Linked DNA regions of Homo sapiens: all the other regions are linked to region 7. Evidence: promoter capture Hi-C in 16 types of primary human blood cells and fetal thymus (Javierre and others, 2016). All regions are on one chromosome and are shown on one strand. Each heading gives the region's core, a stretch centred on a gene start or on the middle of the fragment in contact. The rest is flanking DNA. Distances are from core to core; before and after follow the strand shown.

Region 1 (2,700 bases), core at 188-2,687, 850 kb before region 7:
CTTATCCTTTTTGTGTAATGGTATATTAAAAAAAAAACTCTTTAAGACCTATTACTACAAGAGTCCAATCTCTTGGAATGGCTGCTGAGGATGACAGACCTTGCTGTAATGCACCCACTGGTTTAATCTGTGCATTTAATAGCTCTCAAATCATGTAGCAGTTGCCATTTTCCTGACATTTTTGGATCACAAATACAGGTGAATTCCAGGGGCTGACTATTCTGTATGTTCTGCTTCCAGTTGCTCTCTCACTAGCTGATGGAGTTGCATCAGTTTCTCCTGTGATAGGGGCCATTGATCCACCCACACAGGTTTGTCAGTCAGCCACTCTAGCGGCAAAGCAGTGGGTGGAGGAGAAATACCAATGACCCCCACCAAAAATCCTGATGACCTAGCCCTTTTCTGTTTTGTCCAGTTATTGATATTGGATCAGGGTTTCCCTGCAGGGGCTTTCCTAAGCCTTTTCCACTCTGAATCCCATTTTCTTTAACATTTTAAATCCTGGATTATCAATAGTTTCCTTTTTAAGTCTCATGTCCCATGCTGTCAGTAAATCTCGGCCCCATAGATTAACAGCTATATTTGCAACATAAGGTTGAAAAGTACATGACTGTCCATGTGGTCTGAGACAGGATAAAATCTCAGCACTCCACTGAACACTTTGAGCTTTCCTAGTCCCACTAAGGATGTAGAAGTTAATTGCAGGGGTCAAGATGGTGGGCCAATAGTGTTTGGATATTACTAACACATCAGCTCCCGTATCCATAAGCCCATAGAACTTCTTTCCTTTAATTTGCACTGTACAGGTGGGTCGATTAAATGCTATGGGTTGTGATAGATAAATTTACCGCCTAGTTGTACTTCCAAATCCTTGATTCCCTCGTTTTTCCTTTCATGGGGAAGGGTGCAACTTGCAGGGAATAAGCAATAGTTGAGCAGTATATTCTCCCAGTTCAAAAACCCAAAGATCTTGTGACATTACTACTACTTGAATTTCTCCTTCATAATCACAGTGAACAACTCCGGGGACCATGGTAATGCCCTGTAAGTTAAGACGGCTTTTGCCCAAAATTAATCCCATATATCCTGTTGGCAAAGGTCCCCAAATACCAGTGGGAATCTTCGTGGGTTTGTCTCCTCCAACAAATGTAACCCGTTCTCTGACTGGAAGATCTAATCCTGTGCTTCTGGGTGTTCCTGGGGAGAGGGAATCAATGTTCTTCTGGGAACCCATCCCTGAAATGGGGCTGTGGCCTGGATGGGGAATGCCCTCATTGTTTGAGGGGCCCGGATCCAGGCCCCCTTCTCGTTTCCCGACAGGGGGGTGCTATTCTGATGAAATTTTGAGCGGCATTGATTAACCCAATGATTTCCTTTATTACAACGAGTGAAAAGTCCTGGCATTTTTTCTGTCTGGGGGAACTGCATTATAAGATCCTCTCTGCCCAGAGGTCTGATGGCATTCTTTTTTGAAATGTCCAATTTTTCCACAATTATAACATTTTCCTACTTTAGGGCTTGACCCTTGGCCCTTTCTAGATTTGTTACTACTAAATTAGCCATTGCTTGAGCCAACATTGTAGAATGATGGAGTTCAGTTCCCACATCCTGACAGGCTTTGAGAAATTTTCCTAAGATCTTTGCAGACCTCACAGGTGCCAGAGCACGTTTACAATCTGCACTTGCATTTTCAAAAGCTAGAGTCAAAGTAAGCATTTCTGCAGCAGCGGTATGAGGAATCTGATGCCTCACTGCCTCTTGTAATTGTACAACAAAATGTGCATAGGACTCCTGCGACCCTTGCATAACTTGTAGAAAAGATTGTACTGGGACTCCTTGCTCTGGAATGGTGTCCCAGGCGCGTTTAGCAGCCAAGGCAGACTGCTTGTAAGCAGTGCCTGGGAGTGTCAATTGTCGCAGCAGATCTGAATAAGGGCCATTACCCAGTTGCATATCCTCTGTAATGTCCCCGTGTCCAGCAGCACGATTCTGTCTAGTCTGGTCTGCACACAGTTCTAGCCAGTTTAAATTCCATGTCAGATATGCACTACCAGACAAACAAGTGTGAGCCAAATGCTTTATATCAAAGGCTGGAAGGCACATAGCACCGAGTACAGATTCTAGCAATCCTAAAGTAAATGGGCTCTGTATTCCATTATTAACTACACTAGCTTTTAATTCCTTCAACAACTTAAACTCTACCGGGGTGTGTTCATAAGTAAACTGCTGTGGATTATTCAGATTGGGCCTTACGGAAATAGGAAAAGCGCAAGGTCCTAGGGGCTCTCCAGCTATGGCAGCAGCGCAGAGAATTCTTTGTGTTGGGGTCTCTTTCTGCTACTGAAGGAGGCGGTATAGATGTTTCTGCTATTGGGGGGATGGTACAGGCCAATTTTCGTCCTTTCCTGTTTATCATTTTCTTTTCTTTTCTTTTTTTTTTTTTTTTGAGACAGAGTCTCGCTCTGTCACCCAGGTTGGAGTGCAGTGGCACGATCTCAGCTCACTGCAAGCTCCGCCTCCCGGGTTCACGCCATTCTCCTGCCTCAGCCTCCCAAGTAGCTGGGACTACAGGCACCCACCACCACGCCTGGCTAATTTCCTTGCATTTTTAGTAGAGATGGGGTTTCACTGTGTTAGCCAGGATGGTCTCAAATCTCCTGACCTCACGATGCGCCCACCTCGGCCTCCCAAAGTACTGGG
Region 2 (2,700 bases), core at 180-2,679, 910 kb before region 7:
AAGCAAGTTTTACAAAACTGAGCCAGAGGCTATGATGAACTATCCCTCCGATTGGCTTAATACAAGAATTGCATTTTTTTCTAACATTACCTGGACGTGGGAAGCAAGACCACACTCGCGCCAAAAGCAAGACCTGCTTTGCCACGCGGGCCTACAGTTGCCAGTAGGGCTAATACACCGCGTCCTCCGCAAATACAGCTACTCCGAGCGGGTTGGACCAGCATGCTAGTGTTACCTGGCGGCAGTGCTAGGAGGTTAAGAGTAGGCAGAAATAAATGAACAAGCAAGAGAGCCCCTGGGAAAATAAGTCCTGGAGACGCTGGCCACTGACAGAAAAAGACAATGGGCACACTTTTTATTTTGAGACGGAGTCTCGTTCTATCGCCCAGGCCGGAGTGCAAGTGGCGCGATCTCGGCTTACAACTTCCGCCTCCCGGGTTCAAGTGATTTTCTACCTCAGCCCCCAAGTAGCTGGAATTACAGGCGCGCGGCACCACGCCTGACTAATTTTTGTATTTTTTTTTAGCAGAGATGGGGCTTCACCATGTTCTTCAGGCTGGCCTCGAACTCCTGACCTCGTGATGCCCCCGCCTCGGCCTCCCAAAATGCTGGGATTACAGGAGAGCCACCTCGTCACGCAGTGCAGCCCCCACACTATTTACAAATACAGTACCTGAGGGCCGATATCCCAAAGCTAAGGCTTATCAAAGGCCTGCGAAAAGACAGACACCGGGCACCACCAGCAGTTGGCCATTCTCAACGACCAGCTGCACAAGATCGTGGGCCGGAAGCACCTTGGGCATGCCACGTACTGCTCACAACCAGGACGGGATGTGCTCAGGAAGTCACCTCAACGCTAAAGTAAACTAAAGCATTTACACCACATCCCTGTGTCAGAAATAAAATTTTTTCAGGGCCACTTTTAAGCGCCGCGCTTTAACAGAAATCGGCCGGCCAATCACACACCACCGCGGGAATTTGAAGAAAAAGTAGGACCTGGTGGCTCAAGTAGCCTTAGCTATCCGGTGACTGTGGCTGAGACTGAGACGGAAGGATCCTTGCGCCCAGGCTGCTGGGAGCTGTTAATAACTGACCCCCAACCAGCACGACTAGGATAGACCGTGGCCGCACAACACCGCAGCACCCGCACCCCTCTCCACCCCACTCCCCCCTCCAAAAAGCTTCAGCTCTTTTGACTGAGACCTGTGGGTGGCTCTGAAAAGAGCCGTTTAAAATTTTCAAAGGGGAACGTCCCGCCAGTTTCACTTTTTCTTCGGAGCTGCCTTCTTTGCCTTTGTAACCTTCGGCTTCCCCGACTTAGGCTTGGCCGCCTTGGGCTTAGGGGCTTTGGCCTTAGCTGGACTCTTGGCAGCTTTTTTTGGCTGAGGTGTTTTCACCTTTTTCGCACTCTTGGCCACTTTCTTGGTCCCAGCAGCGGTTGCTGGCTTCTTTACCTTCTTAGGAGTCTTTTTGATGCTTTTCTTCGGGGTAGCGGCGCCAGCCACCTTCTTGGGCTTCTTGGCTGCCCCAGCAGGCTTCCTAGGCTTGGCTGCGCCAGCCTTTTTGGCCTTGGGTTTGCCTTCCCCGGAAGCCGCTTTCTTGTTGAGTTTGAAGGAGCCAGAAGCACCGGTACCTTTGGTCTGCACCAGAGTACCTTTGCTCACCAAGCTCTTGAGGCCAAGCTTGATACGGCTGTTGTTTTTTTCTACATCGTAGCCAGCAGCCGCAAGCGCTTTCTTAAGCGCGGCCAGAGAAACGCCGCTGCGCTCCTTAGAAGCTGCCACTGCCTTGGTGATAAGCTCAGATACTGGGGGTCCGGATGCTTTGCGTTTCCCAGCAGTTGCGCCTGCCTTCTTCGCCTTTTTCTTCACAGGTGTTTTTTCTGCGGGTGCAGGAATGGTAGGAGCAAGTGGAGCAGTCTCCGACATGTTTTTGTCTTCCCAGAAAAGACAATAAGTAATCTCAAACTGTCAGAACAGCATGTCCTCTACGAGGGAGGCTGAGGGTTTATATAGAGAGACGCTGAGTGATGATTGGTTCCTTGCTCCATGCGCGGCGCTGCTGGAAAAGGACTCCTCGTATCTACCGCGCTGCTGTGTTTGTTGCCCCTTAAAAAAGAGTAAAAATATAAGAAATCTGGGCATGAAATAATTAGAGACTTGGGGGAAACTGATCCGAGAGAGTTCGGGCTTCATTCCTGCCTTTGTTTCTATGCATAGTTTTAAAACCGGCATCTTGAAACTTTTCTTATTCCCCCAACTCTCTTTCAAACTTCGGTCAAATCGAGACAACTTTCATGTTTTCCTTAAAAATACTATTTCTCCCTCTTTCATTTGCAAATCTCTCTTCCAGGGCATTGTTCTGTGAATTCTTACCGTCTCAACTTTATATAGATAAACTCATTTTTATCCAAATGTGCAGGGAAATTGGGTTTTTTCGCAGGAACAATAGCACAGGCTCTCTGGCGAGCTGTTTGCATCAACCTCTAGGAATTGGCACTGAGGTAGAAAGTTCTATGTACAAGAGGGGTGATTAGTTTAGAAAAGATAGTTTAAAAAAAAAAATAGTATTTGAGTTACCAGTGTGTAAGCTGGATTTGATCTCCATATTTCAGTGGTTTAAACATTTCCAGAAAGATAAGGGTGAGGCTACATTATTCCTCTTACAGAAAAAAAAGTCCTAAGTAGAGTTACCAACCTT
Region 3 (2,700 bases), core at 181-2,680, 820 kb before region 7:
ATCACTTGAAACAAAAATCAAGTCTCTTCTCTGCTCCCTGTCCTCTAGCAATTTTTAAAGTTATTGAAACATATTCCTGATTTGCATTATAGAAAACACCCAAAGAACATTCTCAGCTTACCACATATGCGCCTGAACTTGAAGTTTGTTGATTCCTTCTAAGTTTTGTTGGCAGGACGTGAACTCAGCTATTAAATTCCTGGTAAAGCGAGAGGTACAATATGTGACATATAATAACATGTACGACGTTTAAGAAAACTTTTGGCACCTATAGTCGTGGCTGAGTGGTTAAGCCTACTTTTTAAACATTTAAATAGCTTATTTTAAAATTATTTACCTACATATCTCTAAATAATATGTTTGTATGGACCTTCTGTTGACTTTATATAAGAGGAGTAACTGGTTCACTTTCTTCTTCACACCCCAGGACCCCCGACACACACATGCTCCCTTTCTAAGTCTTCTCATATGGTTATAGCACAATACATGATACTTTAATATTTGTAGCTTAAAATATGACAACTTTATAAACATAATTCAACAAGTGGGCAAAGAAATACATTGTTAAGTTTTCCTTTCCTTGCAATTTTTATTTTTCCCCGGCATTAGTACATAACTGTCTTTTCTTGTTGTTTTACTGCTTAAGCTTCTAGACACTTTTCATTAATTCAACCCCAAGCATTTCGTCAGTTGTCTAAACATTTCTCCAAAAGTTCAAAAGCTTTGCACAGTCTGTAGATTTCATCCTACTTTAAACATGTCTCCTTATGCATCTGTATTAGTTTGAGTAAACAGAAAAATAAGAACAGGAAAAAAAGTGTCACCTACAGCCTGCTCAAATCTGGACATGTTACTATATGTCACATATGGTACCTCTCATTTTACTAGGGATTTAATAATACTAGGTGAGTTCATGTCCTACTAATAAAACTCGGAAGGAATAGCTGAAATAACTTTTGAAGTTTGCTGTAAATATTAGTGTTTGTAATTATGCAGAACGGCGGTTTAGAGTTTTATCTTTGCTCTACCATTTACTAGCTGCATGACTTTGGGCAAGTTAGTTAACCTCTGCAAACCCCAACTTGCAGACAAACCCCAATTTGTCTCATTTGTAAAGTAAGAGTAATAGCAAGTATTTACTTCGTAGAATTGCGAGGAATAAATGATTCAGAACTTGGAATAGTGCATGGTATCTATTAACTGTTCAAACAATCAAAGCTAAAACTACTGCTTTTGTTATTTTTAATCTAATTAGGATAGTAATGTATTGCAACCAGAGATATAGATCTCTGAGAGAGGTGCAAATCAAAATAAGTTCCCTTACGGTGTCCATGACAATTATACCAATTTCCTCCTCCTATGAGGTAGATCTATTTTTGGAAGGGGGAAAAACAAATCCACAAAACGCTCCCTAGCAGAGGATGGTTTCGATCCATCGACCTCTGGGTTATGGGCCCAGCACGCTTCCGCTGCGCCACTCTGCTACGCGAGTCACAGGTCCCAGAGTTAATAGTCACCTTTTTTCTAGCGTGTCAAGTTTCCAAATCTCAAAATTATGTCTTCTCTCTTTTTTTTTTTTCCAGAGCAGTAATCTGTTCGTAATATGGCCATAGGCTTAGACTACTACTAAGAAAAGAGTTAATAAGAAATAGGAAAAAGGTTATTTTAGGTACACTTCTCCGATGTAATGTTTGTCACTGTGTATTGTGTGAATGTGTACAGTAAATACATAAGAGAAAATCTGCTAATATTTCAAATGTCATGTTTTAAAGTCATTGTAAGTTATAAAAATTTAAACACTTCTGAAGAAATAAACGTACTTTTCCTTTTTTCCATGTTGTAATTTGCTAATTCATAATCTGTAGGGGGTCTTGAGCCACATGTGGGGAAAAAAACGGCACATTCATGCACATTTTCAGATAATACTATAAGGGGGTTCACGGAATAGCTAGCCTTCTCTGATGTAATGGTTCATTCCCTGTATGAATTTGAGAAAGTAACTGCATTCAGGTTTTCTGCCTCTGGAAATCAAGTGACTTCTTCCGTGATTTGCAGGGAGGGTTGAGGAAATCGCAGAGATCCAGGGAAGTTCAATGGAATCGCTTTAGCCTGGAACAGCTGATCCAAATATGAAGCAGGTAAGCTTAGGTCATCCACTCAAACCAGACTACGTCTCTGCGAAGATCTGCTAAGCTTCTGAAGGTTGGAGAGACAGACATGGATGAAAAGATAAGGCCGCGGGCGTGGGAGTGAGTATGGAGAGAAGTCCAGGAGGGTTTAACAATAGGGATGAGTTGCTGAAGAGTATAATTCAGAATGTTTGCAATAAAAGAGTGAAAACGTCTCTATAAACCCGGAAATAAGCCCCAAAATACCATAACATATTCCTGTATATATCTTCCTACTAAAAAAAGAGAAGGGGGTAGTTTTGAGGAGGCTAAAGTAACTGAGTATACAAGTGCCTAAGAGAAGCAGGAAAAGCAACTTTTTTCCCCCTGTAATATGTAATGTACTCCCCGCCATACAGTTATCTGAGCCAGCGAGCTAAAAACTGTTGACCCCGACGTGATTTGAACACGCAACCTTCTGATCTGGAGTCAGACGCGCTACCGTTGCGCCACGAGGTCTCCGGGACACCTACGTTTTATTTACCTGTCAATCTGATTCATGAAAATAATTTCGGTACTGGTGAAGACCAGG
Region 4 (2,700 bases), core at 201-2,700, 780 kb before region 7:
TGTGTTTTTCTGTTGATAACAGAGACCAGAAGTACCACTGGCTTAAATAAAACAAGGATTTGTTTTCCTTTCATGAAAAACAAACTTATTTGGAAATTTACCCTGAGTACTAATATATAATAAAATATTTTAAAAGAAAAAATTTTTTAAATAAATTTAGATGGTGACAGTCCAGGGCTGATCTGGCACCTCAGATATGTCATTCATGCCCCAGCCTGCTTCTGACTTCATTCTCTGCTGTCCCAGTGTGTGGCTTCCAACCTCAAGGCTGCCTCATGGTCCCAGGGTGGGCTACTGCACCTCCGGGTCCAAAGTCCATGTTCTAGGCAAGAGGAAGAAGGAAGAAGGGAGAGTGTACCCTCACACTCCCAGCTATTTTGGCCTCCCTTTGAAGGATTTCTGGGAGAAGTACAAGCCCACAACTTTCACCTACAAACCGCTGGCTCCAACTTAGTCCCTTGGCCTGCCCTATCTTCAAGGGGGAAGAGCAGGATGCAGTACCCCAGAAAATTAGGCCTTGTCACTAAGAAGAAGGGGGCATGCACGCTGCAGAAGCAACCAGCCATCTCAAGCAGATACCACACAGCCTAAATTCAAACTGTTGCAATATAATCAAATCCCATCAGCTCCAGTCACATATTAGCTCTAGGAGATTTCTGGCTTGCAGCCCAAAAAAGTGTGTTTTGAGGTCGTAAGCCACAGGGAGAACAAGATTGTCCCATAAACTCCTTACAGAGATGGTGTACAGGAAACGAGCCTTACAGAGACCACAGCCTATGGAGTGTCTAGCTTCAGAGAATATGTACTCCACTGGCAGCGTGAGAAACAAATACCCAAGAAAATACAATATAGCACAAACCAGGAGCTGAGGGTGAATGAAGATGCTCAGAAAGATCTGCAGTAAGAATTTCCTGGGAAAGGTAAAACAATGTCAAGCAGCACTGCCTCTGGAAATCAGAAAAATTATATTATTTGATACCATATCCTAAGCCTAAATGCCAGAAGTTCTTAAAGAGGTGCAGTTTGTCTCATTTTCTTTCCATTCATACCTTTATTAGGCTCTGTAAAAAAGATCCTCCTCTTCTACGTACCTATCTACATGCAAGCAAACTGCCACAGAAGCATCTTAATTAGTGCACATCTTCCTCTCTTTGCACATTAAATTTTTTTACTTTCCTACTCCATTCTGCTAATATTTCTATTACCATGTAAAAGACACGAGACAGGTGAATATAAAGAAATACTTATATACATCCACGCACAAGAATGATTCAAATAGATAAACACAGAAACACAAACACTAAGGGAGGTAGGGCTGGAGTTTTTCCTCAACGTGTACAATTCAATGTACTTTCAGTTTTCATTTCAACGTTCCTCAGTGGTTTCTGCCCAGCAACTGATGAGAAACATCACCTCTGAGCCAATCAAAAAACTAATTCTTCCAAAGAGCGACTCTTACTGTTTCTCATGGTGAGAAGACAATATTTGCTTTCTCTTTTTCCTTTCTTCCGGATGAGAGGCTAAGCCATAATAGAAAGAATGGAGAATTATTGATTGACCGTCTTTATTCTGTGGGCTCTGATTCTCCAATGGGAATACCAAGGGGTAAGTGCAGGAAATTGATTAGAGCCTGGGCTACAACGCATGGGAGGAGCGGGGCTGAATCGCTGAGAGTGGTGAGTGGGCATGCAGGGAGAGTACTCTCCCAGAGAAAGGGGTGCAGTGCCTGTGTGTGTGTGTGTGTGTGTGTGTGTGTGTGTGTGTGTGTGTACATGTGTACATGTGCACACTCGCACATGCACATATGGGCACGTGGGAAGACGGGAGAAGTACTGCAAAGTATAAGGAACTGCAGAGGTTGGGATTTAGTGGAAGGAAAGGGAGACAACATGAATGAAGAAATATTCCAACTGCATGTTCTTAACGTATTGTGGTCAGAAAAGGGCAAACAAACAAACAAACAAAAAACCCTTAAAATCTGTTCTGGCCAACTCAAGGCATCTATTCTGAGAAATTCTGAAGAAGAAGAAGAAAAAAGAGATGTGCCTCATAGATTTATATGTAAATGTGTTTATTACAGAAGTATTTATAATATAGTAAAATCTGAACCAACATACATATTCAACAGGTGGGGAATAGACAAACAATGCATGGTTCAGTCATAAAACATGTTCCATGTAACCATTAGGAATCATAATTTTAATTAAGTGAAATTCTTTATAATTTTAATAACACTGGATCCTTATATTAAACCATTTTTGGTATCTTTTAGGGATAGTACTTGGTTTTCTTTCCATTCATCATTTCCCCAAAACCTAAAGCATGATTTCCCATGGTTACAAGCTACTACATTGTATGAATATATAATTATTGGGAGTCTCTGTGAGCCTACTCTGACTCAGAAAGCCGCTCCTAAAGAAGAAAAAAGAACAAACAAACAAATAAAAAACCCGAATTATTTTTAAAACTCTTTATTTTGGATTTTTCAGTTTCTACATTTTGTTACTGTAGATTTTACTAGATTGAACAGCCTTATCCATAAATATTTGCATCAATCTCTAAATTTTTTTCTTCAACACTAACTTTTATAGTTGGAATTTTGGGGGCAAATAATACAACATTTTAAAGGCACTTGCCATGTGTACATGGCCAAATGCTTCCAGAAACATTTCCACTTCCATTAGCAAAGTATATAACTAC
Region 5 (2,700 bases), core at 77-2,576, 970 kb before region 7:
TCTGAGTGGATAAGGCCTAAGCACTGATGTGGCTTTGGTAATGAACCTGAAGTTAAAAACTGGTTAGCTTATGCTAAGCTGCCATTTGAAAGGTCTCCTCCAGCATCTGAATTAAGGGAAACAATGTTTTGAAGCAGTCACAAAACTTTTCTGATGCATTAGATCTGAGGTAGGACCTGATAATTTGTACTTCTAAATTATGCAGGTGATGCTGATGCTGCTGGTCCGGAGACCACTTTGGAGAGTTTTACTTTAAAGGAAATGAAACTGCCCTAAAATGCTAATACTAAATAGCCACACAAAGCCGGAAAAAAGCAAAGAATTTCAAACCGAAGATGAGAGGTCCTGAAAAATAACAGCGGTCATCCTACTCCCGGTGCGGCTATGCGGCCATGAAAAGGAGTCTTGGGGCCGGTCGTGCCCCTCCACGCAGGCTCCCTCATAGGGTCATCCCATCAACCCTCGCCAAAAACGCCGGCCCCCTCATAGGGCCGTCCGGCCACGCCCCTCCGTGCCCTAACCACAGAGCCACACGTTACGCCGCCGCCCCGTTACGCCCATCCGGCTCCCGCATAGGGCGTCACGTACGTTTAACGTCGGCCCGGCGCGCGCGTCCGGGAGGTTGCCCGTAGGCCGCTAACTGGTGGTTCCCAGTCCCCGCCGACTCGGCCTCTTTCTTCTGCGGCCACCAGATCGCGGGATATCGGAGACTTCGAACAATCCGCTGGAGTCCTTTACAGTTTAAAAACAGAGGACCGGCCGGGCGCGGTGGCTCACGCCTGTAATCCCAGCACTTTGGGAGGCCGAGGCGGGCGGATCACGAGTTCAGGAGATAGAGACCATCCTGGCTAACACCGTGAGACCCCGTCCCTATCAAAAGTACAAAAAAATTAGCCGGGTGTGGTGGCACGCGCCTGTAGTCCCAGCTACTCAGGAGGCTGAGGCAGAAGAATCGCTAGAACCAGGGAGGCGGAGGTTGCAGTGACCGAGATCGCGCCGCTGCACTCCAGCCTAGGCGACAGAGCGAGACTGCGTCTCAAAACAAAAAAAACGGAGGATCGAAAATTTTGAAGACTGAGAGCAAGGCAACAATCTTCCCTTGACCTTTTTGCTCCTCTCACAAGGGTTTTTCAGACGGCTGAAACCAACGAAAAGAGTGAGGAAGCAGGCAGAAAATTTCAGCTTTAGTCTCTCAGCATCCTCCTGCTTTCTTCTCGGGGAGCTGGCACTTCCCCCTTCTCTAGTAGCTGTAAATACGCCTCCCAACTCCAAGGAGACCTTTCTTGCATCTCCCTTACTGTTCTCACGCCTGTAGGGCTCTTCGTGTGAGGATTCAGTGTATGTATGTATGTATATGAATGTGTGCGAATAATTATTTCCTAATTGAGTTTTTTTTTAAAAAAATCATCTTCCGGTACACGCAGTGCCGTACTCCATTAAACAGCAGGCACGGTGTCTAGGGTCCGCAGTTCTTTTGGAGGCTCATGAAAATATTTTAATTTCTTCTAAAGTCAGAAGGAAAAAAATGAACATTTAAGTCGAAGAAGATGTTACATATTAATCTTCATATGACTTTAATTTTTTTTTTTTTTTTTTTGAAACGGAGTCTCGCTCTGTCCCCCAGGCTGGAGTACAGTGGCGCAGTCTCGGCTCACTGCAAGCTCTGCCTCCCGGGTTCACGCCATTCTCCTGCCTCAGCTTCCCGAGTAGCTGGGACTACAGTCACCACGCCCGACTAAGTTTTTTTGTATTTTTTAGTAGAGACGGGGTTTCACCGTGTTAGCCAGGATGGTCTCGATCTCCTGACCTCGTGATCCGCCCGCCTCGGCCTCCCAAAGTGCTGGGATTACAGGCGTGAGCCACAACGCCTGGCCTATGCCCACTAATTCCAATTCTTATTTGATCTAATTGTTTATAGATTCTTGTGAACTTTTACCTTGACAATTATGTTATTTTCAAAGATAATCATCTTTTCCTATTGAATCCTTGCTCTTCTGACTGCCTGTTCCTATCTCATGGTATTGGCCAAACCCTGTGATGCCGTGTTGAATAGGAGTACTTTCTCACCACACTTGTCTTCCTTCCGCCTCTATGGGAATCCTTCCAAAACGGCACCATTAAGTGTTATACTCGCTGTAGCTCCTCCTTATGAAGTTCTCTTCTCATTGTAGTCTGTTAAGTGTTTATGATTAAAGAGTGTTATATTTTGTTAAATGCTTTCGCAGTATCTTTGGAGATGATCATGTTTTTTCTTTATTAATCTCTTTTTTATTTTATTTATTTTATTTTATTTTATTTTATTTTTTATTATTTTAGTTTTTATTTTGAGATGGAATCTCACTCTGTCTCCCAGGCTGGAGTGCAGTGCCCTGATCTAAGCTCATTACAACCTCTACCTCCCAGGTTCAAGCGATTCTTCTGCCTCACTTTCCCAAGTAACAGGGACTACAGGTGCGTGCCACCACATCTGGCTAAGTTTTGTATTATCAGAAGAAGATAGGCCGCCATTGGCCAGGCTGGCCTTGAACTCCTGACATTAAGTGATCCACCTGCCTCAGCCTCCTAAAGTGCTAGGAATACAGGCGTGAGCCACTGCTCTGGGCCTTCCTTTATTAATTTCTTAAACTGGCAGATTTAGAATACTAAACTTCCTTCTATTCTTAGAATAAACCCTATATAATCAGCTATTTATTTAAATAA
Region 6 (2,700 bases), core at 47-2,546, 960 kb before region 7:
AATAAAAAGTCCTTTTAAATTCAACAATAGAAAATCAGTAGATCTGGATGGAAGGCAGCTCAGAGGAACAGAACCAAACAAGTTGGCCTCTCCCCATTCCACTAAAAAATGTTGAATCTTATGTACTTTCATGGTTGTTTCTCCCACGGTAATTACTACTTTCTTCTTTAAAGAATGTATTTGCCAGTCAAGTGCCTCCAACACACCTCCCATCCCCCCACACCAATAACCATCTGAATGCCATTTTGTCTTCCTTTCATATAACAATGCCTTGGTAGGAACTAGTAACTACCTCCATTTTTTTCACTATTCTTCACGGCAGCATCAGCCTTTACCACTTGCCTTCTGAGATACAGGTTTTGCTACCTTGTTTCTCCAGCAGCTACAGTCTTTGCTACCTTGTTTCTCTGATAGCCATGAAGAATGTTAGCAGCAGTTTGCCATGTTTCCTTACAGAAATACAGAAAACACAGGCCAAGCGTGGTGGCTCACGCCTGTAATCCCAGCACTTTCGGAGGCGGAGGAGGGAAATCTCTTTTGAGCTTGAGTTCAAGACCAGCCTGGGAAACATGGCGAAAACCCATCGCTGCAAAAAATACAAAGATTAGCCGGGTGTTGGTGGCGCAAGCCGGTTGCCCCAGCTACGCAAGAGGCTGAGGCACAAGAATCGTTTGAACCCGGGAGGCGGAGACTGCAGATTGCCGAGATCGCGCCATTGATTACTCCAGCATGGGCGACACAGCAAGAGTGAAAATAAACTTTAATACACTATCCTCACCGGCCAGTAAGATATGAAGCCAAGGCGTAATAAGACCATTTAACTTGAAAACCGGAGCTACTAAACACGTGAAACTACACTTTTAGCAGTGACTACTACTCTTTCTCCTGAGTGGATAGGTGGCCCTGAAAAGGGCCGTTGGTTTTGCGGTAGTGTACTGTAGAGGTAAGCTCAGCCGCCGAAGCCATAAAGAGTGCGTCCCTGGCGCTTGAGCGCGTACACCACGTCCATGGCTGTGACTGTCTTGCGTTTGGCGTGTTCCGTGTAGGTGACAGCATCGCGGATTACATTTTCCAGGAAAACTTTCAGCACTCCGCGAGTTTCCTCATAAATGAGGCCAGAAATACGCTTGACGCCGCCGCGGCGAGCCAGGCGGCGGATAGCGGGCTTGGTGATTCCTTGGATATTGTCACGCAATACCTTACGGTGACGCTTGGCGCCACCCTTACCTAGACCCTTTCCGCCCTTACCGCGGCCAGACATCTTGAAACCACAGCTGTTAAATCTGTAACGCAATACGTCTGGCAGAGCCACGCAGCACTTTTATAATAGCATGACGGACCTGTTTGAAAACCTCATGAGAAGGGGCGGGAACCACAGTCAGTTCCCGCCCTTCTGTGCAATTCTCCCTTGCTCAGACTGGAGGAGACCAAGAGGGGCCTGAGGCAACAAAAGAGCCTCAGCTGGGATTTAATAAATACTGCTAGGTATATATATATATATACACACACACTATACTTGCAGCCATTAACTGAGCCATCAGTTCATAAACTTTCGACAAAGAAGCCTGACAATTGTCCCCCACTTTTCCCAGAATATCAAATAATTAGTACTGTTTCCCTCACAGGGTGCTTTTTTTTTTTTTTTTTTTTTTTTTTTTTGAGACGGGTTCTTGCTCTGTTGCCCAGGCTGGAATGCAGTGGCACGATCTAGGCTCACTGCATCCTCTGCCTCCCGGATTCAAGCAATTCTCCTGCCTCAGCCTCCCGAGTAGCTGGGGTTACAGGCGCCCGCCACCATGCCCAGCTAATTTTGGTATTTTTTTAGTAGAGACGGGGTTTCACCATAGGCCAGGATGGTCTCGAACTCCTGACCTTGTGATCCACCTGCCTCGGCCTCCCAAAGTGCTAGGATTACAGGCGTGAGCCACCGCGCCGGGCCATAAGGTGCTTTCAAAGTATTTTAAGTAACTCATATCTTTATTGTCTCTGAGATTATTTTTATTGATTTATGCATTCCTAGTTAACCAAGCAGGGCTCTTTGGCATGCAGGCTAGATAGTGCTACTGAGGGAACTAAAAGTATATGAAAGTTACACATTTAGAGGTCAAATTAGGATAAGATCACCGAGGGCCGATTGAAAACATGACTATGTACACCCGTAAAAGAAAACCTTGTTGGGCTGAAATTTATGAAAATTTATGCTTTGATTGTGCCTTTAATCATGGACAGATTGTAGCTAGCACTGCATCATTCACCATATTCTATTACTCCAGCAAATTGGCATCATAGTATCCCTCCAAACTATCATAGAGACAGCCTGCTTGACATACATGCTGTGGGGGTGACCCTGGGCAAGCTATACTAAGTTTCCTTGTTGTAAATGTATTTTTAAAAATCTAACTTGTAAGTATTTGTTAAGTTGAAACAGATAATCCTATCAAAATGCTTAGAATAGTGTCTAGATTCCAAATAAGCAATGACTAAACATTAATTATGGTATAGTACAATATTGTGGGTGTTTTCAATTCCTATCCTTAAGGTTCACCCTTCTAAAGGGATGAGAGACAGTATTCTAATTTGCTAAAATCTGATTTCGAGAACTCCTCAAAATAATAAATAATTAAAAACTTAACTCATCATTAATCCCCATAAAAAGTTCCAGGTCCTTTGGGTGGAATATTTGGCTTTTCCTTCATGACT
Region 7 (2,700 bases), core at 18-2,517:
CTTGCTTCGGGGCGGACTGTCTCTAGTCTGTCTGTTGTCTCCCCTCTGAATCTACTTGCTTTTCATTTTCCTTTTCTATAAGCTTTCTTGTCAAAAGGAAAAATTACTGATTGGACCAATTGACGCTGAACATGCCTTAAAAACTAGTAAACTATTCCAAAAATCTCCGTGATGATTTCATGTTCCGTTTCTTCACTCCTGAGAAAAGCTGTGCTCCTCCCCTTACCCTTGCAGACTATCCTGCCTGGTGGTCTGGCATCTTCCCGATGTCCCGTGGGCTGCAGAGATGGAATCAGGGGGTGAGGGGGAAGCAAAGCAAGGCAGAGCTGGGTACAGCCTAGAAGAGGTTAAATAAGGTAACTGCTCGAGCGAAAGCCATACGTACTGGAACGCCATCGGGAACCAAATTTACTAATATATAAACTCACGTTAGAACGCCATTACATGGTGGAAAGTACACGTGACACAATAGGCTTTCAACAAGTTCTAACAGGAAGTCACAGCACTCGACACAACGGAAGTATCCATTTTCGCGCCAAGAGCCAGGAAGCACTTTCTGTTAACACAAGTTTCCTGCACATCCCTAATTTTTTAGGCGCCATATTCCTCACTCAGTACTAACAAAGTGTATGTGGCTTCTCCTTAGCCAGACTCGATTACAAGCACTGCATGCATTACTCAGTGTGATAAGATCATGATAATCCCTTTAAAAAGATCGCCCGAATTTAAGCCTGGATTAGGAACACGTGTTTACAGCTCTAATATCGATAATTTAAGTGGCTCTTAAAAGAGCCTTTGGGGTTGGGCTTTAAGACGCTTACTTGGCAAGTTTACTTAGCGCTGGTGTACTTGGTGACGGCCTTGGTGCCCTCGGACACGGCGTGCTTGGCCAACTCCCCGGGCAGCAGCAGGCGCACGGCCGTCTGGATCTCCCTGGAGGTGATGGTCGAGCGCTTGTTGTAATGCGCCAGGCGGGAAGCCTCACCCGCGATGCGTTCGAAGATGTCGTTGACGAAGGAGTTCATGATTCCCATGGCCTTAGAGGAGATGCCGGTGTCGGGGTGGACCTGCTTCAGCACCTTGTACACGTATACGGAGTAGCTCTCCTTGCGGCTGCGCTTGCGCTTCTTGCCGTCCTTCTTCTGCGCCTTAGTCACGGCTTTCTTCGAGCCCTTCTTGGGCGCGGGAGCGGACTTCGCTGGTTCCGGCATGTTGAAGGCGAACTACGAGCCTGAGACGAGCAGCAGATCGAGAAAACGGGAAGTAATGGGAGCAAGGTACCAGGAGTCGTTTTTATATAGGACCTCTCATGCAAATAAGGTGAAGAGTGAAAGTCCTGTATCTGATTGGTGGTTATTAGGGTGACGTCAGAGGTTAGTTATACCCAATCAACCCAATCTGCAAATCCAAAAGACGTACTTCCATTGGTTAAAACTAAGCTACAACCCTAACCAATGACATATCTTCTTTTTCGCGCCCAATAGTGTTTATAAAAGGCGCTGCCTTTCCTCGTTGGCTACTTTCAGTAAGTTGTGACCAGTATGTCTGGACGTGGCAAGCAAGGCGGTAAAGCTCGCGCCAAGGCCAAGACCCGCTCTTCTCGGGCTGGGCTTCAGTTCCCCGTGGGCCGAGTGCACCGCCTGCTCCGCAAGGGTAATTATGCCGAGCGGGTTGGAGCCGGCGCGCCAGTGTACCTGGCTGCGGTGCTGGAGTACCTGACCGCTGAGATCCTGGAGCTGGCTGGCAATGCGGCCCGCGACAACAAGAAGACCCGTATCATCCCGCGTCACCTCCAACTGGCCATCCGCAACGACGAGGAGCTCAACAAGCTGCTGGGCAAAGTCACCATCGCGCAGGGTGGTGTCTTGCCCAATATCCAGGCCGTGCTGCTGCCTAAGAAGACTGAGAGCCACCATAAGGCCAAATAAGGAGCGAGGTTGTGAAAACTGGAAAACAAAGGCTCTTTTCAGAGCCATTCTACACTGTCTTAGAGAAAGCTGGACACAGTCATGTTTGTTTCACTTCATGTTTGCTTCGCTAGATAACATTGTAAAGCGCTTCTTTCGCGGTTGGGCTGGAGCAACTCTTTACAATGTTTCTAAATTAACCCACTGGAAAGCAATGAAGACCCAAAAGTTGTTGTAGGATACTCCGGAGAAGCTTATTCAGCAGGGGTAATAAGTGAAATCAAACGTACAAATCCCTGAAATCTATTTACTAATTCCAGTGGTTTTTTTTTTTTTTTTTTTTTTTTTGAGATGGAGTCTCCAACAGGCTGGAGTGCAGTGGCGCGGCGCGATCTCGGCTCACTGCAACCTCCACCTCCCAGGTTCAAGCGATTCTCCTGTCTCGGCCTCCCGAATAGCTGGGATTACAGGCACACACCACCACGACCGGCTAGTTTTTTTGTATTTTTAGTGGAGACGGGGTTCCACCATGGTGGCCAGGCTGGTCTCGAACTCCTGACCTCAGGTGATCCGCCCGCCTCGGCCTCCCAAAGTGCTGGGATTACAGGCGTGAGCCACAGCGCCCGGCCTCCAGTGTAATAATTCTATTACATTAATAGTGTTGTCAAACAGCCATAAAAATGGGATATACTTGCCATTCTTTAAAGGCAAATTTTGCAATTCTAAGTATTCTTGAAAAGCAAGAAAGGGCAGCCTGATTCTTAAGTGGTCTAACTCTTAAGAGTAACTTTAC

Evidence for each region. The method cuts DNA at HindIII sites, captures the fragments that hold promoters and counts their contacts. A CHiCAGO score of 5 or more calls a contact.
Region 1: a fragment that was not itself captured here is called in contact with the fragment with the promoter of H2BC12 in region 7 in 1 of 17 cell types (M0 macrophages); the score reaches 5.8 in M0 macrophages.
Region 2: a contact is called between a fragment that was not itself captured here and the fragment with the promoter of H2BC12 in region 7, in 10 of 17 cell types (erythroblasts, naive B cells, activated CD4 T cells and 7 more). The highest score is 12.8, in erythroblasts.
Region 3: a fragment that was not itself captured here is called in contact with the fragment with the promoter of H2BC12 in region 7 in 11 of 17 cell types (erythroblasts, total CD8 T cells, activated CD4 T cells and 8 more); the score reaches 7.8 in erythroblasts.
Region 4: the fragment with the promoter of BTN3A2 here is called in contact with the fragment with the promoter of H2BC12 in region 7 in 15 of 17 cell types (activated CD4 T cells, naive CD8 T cells, M2 macrophages and 12 more); the score reaches 21.1 in activated CD4 T cells.
Region 5: the fragment with the promoter of H2BC6-AS1 here is called in contact with the fragment with the promoter of H2BC12 in region 7 in 17 of 17 cell types (naive CD8 T cells, naive CD4 T cells, activated CD4 T cells and 14 more); the score reaches 31.8 in naive CD8 T cells.
Region 6: the fragment with the promoter of H4C4 here is called in contact with the fragment with the promoter of H2BC12 in region 7 in 17 of 17 cell types (non-activated CD4 T cells, total CD4 T cells, fetal thymus and 14 more); the score reaches 50.1 in non-activated CD4 T cells.

Annotation. Positions count from the first base shown.
Region 1 is chr6:26,292,590-26,295,289 of GRCh38, forward strand. The region is part of intron 1 of LOC124901287 (a long non-coding RNA gene); the gene reads left to right. Among named protein-coding and RNA genes, the nearest start is that of TRR-TCG4-1, 5.7 kb to the right of the region's middle. The HindIII fragment of the contact is 3,127 bases long and covers 1-2,700 here.
Region 2 is chr6:26,233,006-26,235,705 of GRCh38, forward strand. H1-3 (H1.3 linker histone, cluster member) reads right to left here and starts at 1,982. Exons shown (of 1, transcript NM_005320.3): 1 at 1,207-1,982. The coding sequence starts at 1,928. The coding sequence ends at 1,263. It also overlaps the pseudogene H2AC9P. RefSeq lists enhancers at 305-354, 1,185-1,594, 1,508-2,495. The HindIII fragment of the contact is 501 bases long and covers 1,180-1,680 here.
Region 3 is chr6:26,328,889-26,331,588 of GRCh38, forward strand. It overlaps TRX-CAT1-4 (tRNA-iMet (anticodon CAT) 1-4), which reads right to left and starts at 1,484; the gene lies at 1,413-1,484. TRW-CCA3-2 (tRNA-Trp (anticodon CCA) 3-2) reads right to left here and starts at 2,627; the gene lies at 2,556-2,627. It overlaps LOC101928743 (a long non-coding RNA gene), which reads right to left. Exons shown (of 3, transcript XR_241992.5): 2 at 122-199. The HindIII fragment of the contact is 1,422 bases long and covers 720-2,141 here.
Region 4 is chr6:26,363,748-26,366,447 of GRCh38, forward strand. BTN3A2 (butyrophilin subfamily 3 member A2) reads left to right here and starts at 1,451. Exons shown (of 11, transcript NM_007047.5): 1 at 1,451-1,605. RefSeq lists an enhancer at 1,409-1,458. The HindIII fragment of the contact is 4,055 bases long and covers 1-2,700 here.
Region 5 is chr6:26,171,447-26,174,146 of GRCh38, forward strand. It overlaps H2BC6-AS1 (H2BC6 antisense RNA 1), which reads right to left and starts at 1,327. Exons shown (of 3, transcript NR_186648.1): 1 at 589-1,327. RefSeq lists an enhancer at 401-1,293. The HindIII fragment of the contact is 22,011 bases long and covers 1-2,700 here.
Region 6 is chr6:26,187,816-26,190,515 of GRCh38, forward strand. H4C4 (H4 clustered histone 4) reads right to left here and starts at 1,297. Exons shown (of 1, transcript NM_003539.4): 1 at 895-1,297. The coding sequence starts at 1,261. The coding sequence ends at 950. RefSeq lists enhancers at 1-523, 1,306-1,485. The HindIII fragment of the contact is 9,357 bases long and covers 1-2,700 here.
Region 7 is chr6:27,145,588-27,148,287 of GRCh38, forward strand. H2BC12 (H2B clustered histone 12) reads right to left here and starts at 1,268. Exons shown (of 1, transcript NM_001312653.2): 1 at 774-1,268. The coding sequence starts at 1,211. The coding sequence ends at 831. It overlaps H2AC12 (H2A clustered histone 12), which reads left to right and starts at 1,519. Exons shown (of 1, transcript NM_080596.3): 1 at 1,519-1,975. The coding sequence starts at 1,542. The coding sequence ends at 1,928. It overlaps MIR3143 (microRNA 3143), which reads left to right and starts at 2,039; the gene lies at 2,039-2,101. RefSeq lists enhancers at 166-275, 695-1,611, 866-1,325, 1,656-1,905. The HindIII fragment of the contact is 2,078 bases long and covers 81-2,158 here.